Linked DNA regions of Homo sapiens: region 1 is linked to region 2. The links are contacts of gene promoters, found by promoter capture Hi-C in human tissues and cell types (Jung and others, 2019). All regions are on one chromosome and are shown on one strand. Each heading gives the region's core, a stretch centred on a gene start or on the middle of the fragment in contact. The rest is flanking DNA. Distances are from core to core; before and after follow the strand shown.

Region 1 (4,365 bases), core at 1,217-3,716, 150 kb before region 2:
ACTTGCCATTTTGTGCCAGGGAGGAAAAGGTCACTTAAGATTGCCAGTCTCTGTGACTTTTTCTTTCCCACTTGGAATTGTTTACCAAAATTTCTGTGATGTAGTGATTTTTTAAAATCCTGGAATTAAGTCAGCTCTGCCACTTGGATGCTCTACAGCTGTGGCAAGTTGCATAGCCTGCTCCTCTTCTGTCATCTTGGGGCAGTAATGCTACCTGCCTCATGGGATTGCTGTGGCAAGTAAATGAGTTCGGATAATGTCTGTAAATCACTTAGAATAGTGCTTGGCACATAAGGGCTCAATAAATGCTAATTATTATTTTTAGGGTTTTTATGAGGCTTAAATTAAATGGGATTATGCATGTAAAATGTTCAGTAGAGTATCTGGCATTTATTAGGGGCTCAATAAATGCTAGTGGCTCTAATTTAAATATTCCGGTGCCTATATGTCTAAAGAGGCTGTGCCTTTGGATCTCTGCACACGTCATATTTTTAGTGAATTTACTTTAGGGCATGGAAAAAAACATTAGTTTCTATACTGACTTTTCCCAATAGGTACAAGTTACAATGTTAAAAAAATTTAAATAAATACATACTATAATTATTTTATGATTTCTAAGTTTAGGTCATTTGTTACTTTTTGTTTATTTTTACTATTTAAAAGTATAGATCTTGATTAATACCACAATTTCAATATCTAACCTGTTTTTCTTCTTTTCTTGTTACCCTTTTTATAGGTTTGTGGAATCTTGCTTCCCTTTTTTCCAACCTTTGTTTATTTGTATTGATGCCCTTTGCCTTTTTCTTTCTGGAATCAGAAGGCTTTGCTGGCCTGAAAAAGGTAAGTGAATCTAGTATTGGAATTAAATTGGTTAAGTGAGGAATTAAATATCATTCACATTGAACTAGAAAAAGCAGACTTAAATTATTTAAATGGAATATAAAAAATGCGTAGTAAATAATATTGATAACACATTGTTAACAATAACAGTAATTCTGCATATTGAATTACTTTGCATGTCCATGAGAGAGAGACATCTTTTAGACCTGTGAGTACTTTTACAGTATGCATACATCTAGTGTAATGGATAAACCTGATATAATAGCTTTTATTCTTTCCTTAGGGTATCTTATTTAGTTTAAGGTGACAGTAAAGTGTTATTTCCATGGGCTCCCCTTTCTGTTATCTAGCTGTTATTCCATACGTTAACAGTCTGCAGCTGAAAACTGACAGCTGATTTCACATTTAGTAAATATACCAGGATCAGAATGAATGACTCTGGCAGTCAAACCTGACATTAAGAAAACTGGCTTTTATGCATTGGAATTTAAAAAATCATGATGTATTCTTAAGACAGGCAATTAAAATTTAGTCAATGGCCGGGTGCAGTGGCTCACACCTGTAATCCACCACTTTGGGAGGCTGCGGCAGGAGGGTTGCTTGAGGCCAGTTTTTCGAGACCAGTTTGGGCAACACAGTGAGACCCTGTCTGTACTAAAAATAAAAAAATTAACTGGGTGTGGCGATGGGTACCTGTGGTCCCAGCCCCTCTGGAGACTAAGGTGGGAGGATTGCTTGAGCCTGCAGGTTGAAGCTGTGGTGTGAGCTGTGATTGCGTCACTGCACTCCAGCCTGTCTCAGAAACAAACAAAAACCAAGAATAAACAACAAGAAGAAAGGAGGTCATTGTAGACTCTTGAGAAGGCAATTTCTGTAGAATTTTGGAAACATAACTTTTGATGGATATTCATTCATTCAACAGAGAATGAATTTTATTGAGAATTCAGTTTTATTAACCAATTCCTTAAGTAGCAGTTATTATGCTCTTTATAGGAGCTTGCTGGGGACACAGATGAAAAGATGGGCCTCTGGCCTTCAAGGGTCGGACAGTGGGAGAAATGACAGATGTAAACAAATAAGATGCAGTTTGAAGCCCTTTTATATAATGAAGTCCTATGGGAAACCCTGAAAGGAAAGGATATCTTGATTTTCCTGGGGAATCTGAGCAGGCTTCACAGGGGAAGTCAATCTGGACTTGGGCTGGGACTTGAAGGATGAGCAGGGGTTTGCTAGAGTGTGGCATTCCAGGCTTGAGCAAAGGCCTAGAGCTCTGACAGTATTGAGGGAATGGCCGGTACTTAGATACTGGAGAATGGTGAGAGATGAGGGTGCACAAGCCGCTTGCCAGGGTCGAATTCTGGAGGCCTGGAGTCCTCCATCTGGTCATTTGAGTTTTATGTTGTAGGCAACAGAGAAGCCAGAATAGGATTTTTGAAAATAATTTTTTTTCATCTACCACTTGAGTATATTTAGAGATAAATATGCATTTTAGACTTTGTGCAGGTCACAAAGGAAAGGAGTACAAAGGAGTACATGCCCCACACAGTGCAGAACACTGATCTGTAGACACGGCACCGAATCAGTCCTGCACCTGACTCTGTGACATTGCCTGCCGACGTTTGCTTTCAATAAGCAAAGTTCTTCCCTCTTCCTGACACTACCTCTTGTGTAATAGTACCACATACAAAAAACAAATGATAAAGCTTGGTGTGAACTATATTTTCATATTTGACATTATAAACAGTATCTACCTAATTTATACTTTTTATAACAATCTAGTTGAATAGATTGTTATTTACAATAACAGGGTGTAATATGGACAAACTCTTTGCCTCCAAGTTATTTTCTTCCCTTCTTGTGAATTAACCAACTAGGAAAGGGACTTGGCTAAATCTGTTTGAAGAATTAGCAACAATCTCCAGAATTAAAAAAGAAAAAAATGACAAAAAATCCCAGTGACATGTCATTTTTCTCCTGTTCCCCCTTACAGACTTAAGGTCAAAGGGAGAATCAGCTGAGGAGGGATCATAGAAGTTAATTAGAGATATTTCACACATACGATTGTACAGCACTTACTTCCTCTATTTTAAAAAAATTTTTAGTCTTTTTATACATGATTAATATTCTTTTCTTAGCACATCTTTGACCATGTTAGTTGCCTAAAAATCACTCGAGGGTCACCAGCTGTGTTTCTTGACCTCAAATGGGACTGAAATATTGAATGACTGTAGGATACAGGCAACTATGAATCCAATTAATTCCCAAACACAGCAGAAGGTGGAGCCCCGGACGACTGCCATTTGTCCAACTTGGGAAGTTGTAATAGGTGCTGCAGAAAACCAAATTAAAGAATTTGGTTGTTAATGCCGTTAAAGGAAGGAGGGAGATGGGATTCTAGCTTGAAGGTAGGGAAAGAGGCCAGCGGAAGATGGTGAAGCTGCAACCGTGAGAAAATTTGGCATCAGTCAGACTGCCTGGGAGGTGACTTCATCTAAACCGCGGGGTTGCTTTCTATAAAATGGGTGTAATAATGATCTTTACTTTATTGTATCATTTTGGTGATTAAATGAGATGTGATTATTCATGTAATGCACATAGCCCAGGACTTCATTTAGTAAATTAGCTATTATTAAATTACCTTTATCTTCGAGGTAGTCTTTAAATGCATTTGACTAATAAGTATTCTATAAAATATCACTAATCACTAATAAGTTTTCTAGAATACTTATTATCACTAAATATTCTATAAAATATGAGCCTCAGAAAGCAAGCAACTGAATACAGTACAGTCATCTTTTAATTCCTCACAGATTATTATCTCAGGCGGTTTTAAAATATGTTTCCCATTTTGCAATGGCATGTACTGAAGTAGAATAACTCAGCTTGAGCATTACAGCTAGCATACTTTGAAACAAACTTGTTTGAAGATAAGGTGTGTTCTAGATCCTAGTAGAAATGTTTAGAAAGTTTTAAAATTAAGCTAATCAAGACATGTTATTTTAAAATATTCATATTTTTCGGTTTTAAAATCAGTCACATGAAAGTTGGAAAGGTTACTAATATTGTGTCGTTAAGTCTAAATGTGTTAAGCATACATTTGAGCCCTTTCATGTTGTATATTTCTGTAGTCTAGAATCATTTGTTAACTACCTGTGTAAGTTCTAAATAACATTTTTAAAGATACATGGTTCTTTACACAGTGCTTATTAGAATTAACTTCGTTGCTTTATTGAAATTAATGTTATGATTGATCACAGTCATTAGAATGTTTAACATATTTGGCGAATAAGTACATATATTTATGTATATTCCTTTAAAGCTGCTTGCTCATCGATTACATTTGACACATATAGTTGCTGAAGTGATACTGAAGAGAGGCTAGAAACATTTCTAATGGGTAGATTCAGCGCACTAATTTGAGCAATGACAAACTTGTAATATGGTTAAGTAAAATTTCCTTTTTTTTTTTTTTTCCTGTGGCCACCCTCCTGGTGCTGTTTTACTGTGTCTAAGTCTGGTGTATCC
Region 2 (4,385 bases), core at 1,669-4,168:
CTGCTACAGGGTGGCACTAAGCTACACATTCTGGTTCTGGAGGAAGGGGGTGAACTCAAGTCAGTTATGCTTCGACTCATCCCTGTCCTCAAATAGTTCACCCCTGAGCTCCTGAGGACACATTAATACAAATGGTTAATTACTATGAATTAATCCATTGCTAAATATAACATGATACATAAGTACTACAAAACTTCAGGCTAACACTGGAGACTTGGAAAAACCAGTTAAACTGGCATTTGAAAGATACACAGAGGGAAATGAAGATGGCACATTACAGGTAGGAGGAAAGAACTGGCAGGCTGGAAATCAGCATGATATGCTTATTTTGGGGAGAAAGGGAACAATGAAGAAACTGGAACGCAAGAGGAACACTGGCTAACTTCAGTCTGTCCAGAACACAGAAGTACAGAATATGGGGACAGACCAACTTGAGTTCCAATTGAACTCTACCGCTTTGCTGCGCAAGATACTGGACACAGCTGAGCCCCAGGCTCCTCATCTATAAAGCAGGTATAATAACGCTGGCTTTGCAGGGTTGCCGCAAGGATTAATGAGACAACCTTTGAAGTATCTAAAGTAGGTCTTTTCACACAGAACTTACTCTTGTTATTCTTGCTTCAATTCCCTTCAAAGCTGGTGGAATAATTTGGAATTGGCCCTTTTAGATTTTGGACATGGTGTATTTTATGAAGACAGATGTATTCAAAATATACTGTGATGAGGAGAAATAGAAAGTTATTCAAGTAATCTAGGAACTGGCACAGAAGGCCCTTGAACATATTTCTTCTAATGTTGTTTCCCTATAACGCTGATGAGAAAAAAAATTGATCCCCAGCAGGGGCCACTGTCTGTTTGGAGTTTGCACGTCCTCCCCATGTGCTGTGGGTTTCCTCCAGGTACCCCGGGTTCCTCCCACATCCCAAAGCTGTGCACGTGAGGCTCACTGGGGCGTCCCCGTCTGAGTGAGTGTGAGTGTGCCCTGCCATGGGATGCCGTCCTCTCCAGGACTGTTGCCCGCCTTGGTCCTGAGCTGCCTGGATGGGCTCAGCCCCCTGCCACCCTGAACTGGAATAAGCAGGTTGGAAAATGAAAGGATACAAATTATTGTCAAATAAAAACTCGTAAAGCATACGGTATTCACACAGAGATGCAGGACAATACCCGATGCAGTAAGAAAGGCCCAGCGGGCTGAGAAGTGGCTCCTGTTTGTTTTGAAACTGCATGGTAGGGGGAGGTGCTTCAGAGCTTTGGCTTGGCCAACATTATCTTTAACACAGCCCCTCCACAACCCGGTCACTCATGGATTCACCAGAAATTGGGTAATGATATTTCTTAAATGTAGAGCTCATATGTACTTCAGTGTTTCATATTAGAAGTGCTTTGGTCTTTATTTAGAAGTTTGGCGATGTTTTTGTGACCAGGAATGTGCTGTGGGAACTTTCCTCTTATTTATATCAATTAACCTATGGTGAAACTGGTTTCCTTGTACACTGCATGGCTTAAAGCTCCAGTTTCTAAGAACCTATGGATGATGTTAAGTGAAGACTTACTGTGTTGAGGGCCTAACTCTAAAAATAGAAAGAAATTAATCCAAAATGTATTTCTAAGGACTAACACTTGTATTAAATTACTCCAACCGAAAGAACAAACTCACTAAGGCGTGAGTGGAGAGATAGAAAAGCACAGTGGAACCAAATCTCTGAGATATCCAGGGTTAGAAGTAAAAACGTCAGTCGCTGCTCAAGTCCTGGAGGCTTTGATGATGGTTCTTACTACAGCCCTTTTCTGTTCCCGTTCAATTCTGGCATCAAGAGATGTTTGAAATAAGTTCCACCCTGTATCTCATCAAGACAACTGAACTTGGAGAAATGGTGGAATTTAAAATACTGAAAGATCACTGCCAGAATTTTCTCAGTTCCTGCTTCCAAAATGCCTATAACCTGCAGAAGATACAGTTTGCATCACACTAAAAATGGTCCGGTCATAGCTGCAGTCTGCAATTTAATCTCAAGTTTCTACACAGTAGACCACTGTCATTAATATCAAGGTAAGAGCTTTTAAAACCTATACTCTCTTAAAGTCCTACGGTATCATTAAGTTTTAGAGTTTAAAATTCAGAATTTAAAGGTATTGAAAACCCTTCAAGTACCTACTCCAACTCCACTTTATAAATGAGAAAACCAAATACCAGGTGAGTCCTTCAATATATAATGAGCCTGCGGCACTGGTAGGGTTAGAAACGTAACCCTTGCCCAGTATTGAAAGCTAAGATTAACAGGAACCCGTTGCTTTGTAAATCCCAGTATTAAACGCTCAAGAGGCAGAGCTTGGTGGCAAAAACGATCACTGGGGTGCCAAAGCGAGTAACCTCAGCTAATTAAACACGCTCAATAAAAATACACGAGACCAAGCCTACGACGTAAAGATGCAATCCTACGTAGGGTCTTGGTGTTATCTCCTGCCTTCTGAACCCCGCTGACCGTTTTCTGAGGTTCCACTCATGCAGGAAGCGCGCGGTGACGAGGCTCCAATTCCTCTCAAAGCTGACACCACCCTGCACCTGGGGCCCCTGATGGCAGCCGGTCCTACCGGGTTCTAAAATTACCGACGTGGGATCACTGTTCTAAGGCTTTAGGCAGCCGTAAATTCGTACCCCTCAGATAGAAGGAGCTGTGGAAACTAACCAGGACCCCGAGTCCCCCAAGGAGGCTGCGCGCCGCTACGGGACCCGACCTCGCCTCACAGCTGCGGCCATCGCCGGCCCGGCTCGGAGGAGGCGAAAGCGAGGCCGCGGACGGCCCTCACCCCGAATCCATGGACCCCGCCCGCCTGGCGGGCCACCCTTCTTTCCGTCCCTCCCCCGAAGCCTCTCCGTGCCTCGACTCCTCCGCGAACACCGGAACCCAGGGACGTCTGCCCCTTTTCCCTCAGGCAACTCCCTGGCCGCCCACCGTTGCCGTAGCAACGCCCGCCTCCGCGCTCGCTCCCCGCGGGCTTGCTCACCAGCCCTGCCCCGCCCCGCCCCATACTGCGCATGCTCGCCAGCCCCGCCCGGCCCACATTGCGCATGCTTGCCAACCACGCCCTGTCCACACCACACTGCGCATGCTCGCCGGCCCCCGCCCCGCGCACGGCGTCAGCGTCTAGACGCAGGTGCGTTCCCGTCGAGGCTCGCGCAGCGGGCGTTTTTGGGGATCGCCTGGCGGGGGTGTTCGGGAGCCGCGGGCTGAAGCACGGGGGCGTGCAGGCGCCCAGGCCTCGTGTAGTGAGGGCCGAGCCCCGCGCCGGCTTCGCTGTAGTCCGCAGCCCCCGGCGGCTTTGTGGGCGCAGCCACGCTCCTCAGCCGCCCGCCCACCTGGGCCTGGGCCCCGGTTGTTTCCCTGCGGTGGCTGTGGTCGTTCCCGTTCCAGGGTCTCGAGCGCACCGCCCCTTCGCTGCGCTGTTAGTCGAGGGCAGTTTTCTGGGGGATCCCCCGATCCCCCCGCGCCGCTCAGGCGTCTTGGCTCGCGGAAGCGCAGGCGCCGACTGCCTGGCGTCGTCCGTGACTCCTGGCCCTTCTCTGTGGATCCCTTTGCTTCTCGTTGCGGGTTGTGTTTCCTGCTTCGTGGGCCTGGCCGTTTGCGTTTGGATGCAGGCCCGGGTGAGCCCTGCGTGGCCCGCTGGCCTTTTCCTGCTCCCTAGGTGACTGAGCCGCGTGTGTGACACATCGGAGTGAATTGAGGCAACGCGTTCCTTTCCAGGCTTGCAGCGGGCGGTGTCGTTCACGCTCCTGAGCAGAGCCTTCCGGTGCTTTACTCGACGCCACAAATAGTGCAGGGTTCCTCCCAGGGGCTGTCGCGAGCTAGAACTCTTCCCCGCCCCTGTGAGCTCGGGCTGTTCTTCCTCCTCCGCGTGGCTCACTCCAGCCTCGGATGTTTCCTCGCTGCACAGACCTGCTCGGGAAGACTCGAGAAGGCCACCCCAGGACTCCAGCTCTCCCCGGAAGGGCTTCCCCTCGGATTGCGTCTTGGCCCCTGGAACCCTCCCTCTGTATCCTCTGCTGTTCCTCTCTTGGCCTCCATTTGGGTTGTGGCCTGGATACTCTGGCTCGCTGCTTCCCTTCTCTTAAGGATCACAGCCCTGCACTGCCTGTCGTCCGGTGCCTGGAAACCATTGTATTTTTTGGTCTGATTTTGTAGTTGTTTGAGAACTTAAGTCTGGTCCCTCACACTCCATGCCCAGAAGCAGAAATGAGTAAAGTTTGTTTTATCTTTTCTTAATATGACAATTATTGTGTTGGTTCAACTTATGTTGTACTTTAATTAGAAGAAATTTGGCCGAAAATACAAGGAAAATATACAAATGCAAGTAATTTTTTTTAAACTTCCCTGAAAGCAGGGTCT

What was found. Contacts are between HindIII fragments. The study calls those that stand out against the background at their distance.
Region 1: a fragment that was not itself captured here is called in contact with the fragment with the promoter of RNF32 in region 2 in 1 of the 25 tissues and cell types used here (adrenal gland).

Annotation. Positions count from the first base shown.
Region 1 is chr7:156,792,864-156,797,228 of GRCh38, reverse strand. LMBR1 (limb development membrane protein 1) reads left to right here. Exons shown (of 17, transcript NM_022458.4): 5 at 737-840. Among named protein-coding and RNA genes, the nearest start is that of LMBR1, 98 kb to the left of the region's middle. RefSeq lists enhancers at 4,195-4,365, 4,150-4,365. The HindIII fragment of the contact is 4,863 bases long and covers 35-4,365 here.
Region 2 is chr7:156,639,307-156,643,691 of GRCh38, reverse strand. RNF32 (ring finger protein 32) reads right to left here and starts at 2,918. Exons shown (of 9, transcript NM_030936.4): 1 at 2,881-2,918. It overlaps RNF32-DT (RNF32 divergent transcript), which reads left to right and starts at 3,157. Exons shown (of 4, transcript NR_026865.2): 1 at 3,157-4,385. RefSeq lists a silencer at 3,018-3,327 and an enhancer at 2,896-3,487. The HindIII fragment of the contact is 17,064 bases long and covers 1-4,385 here.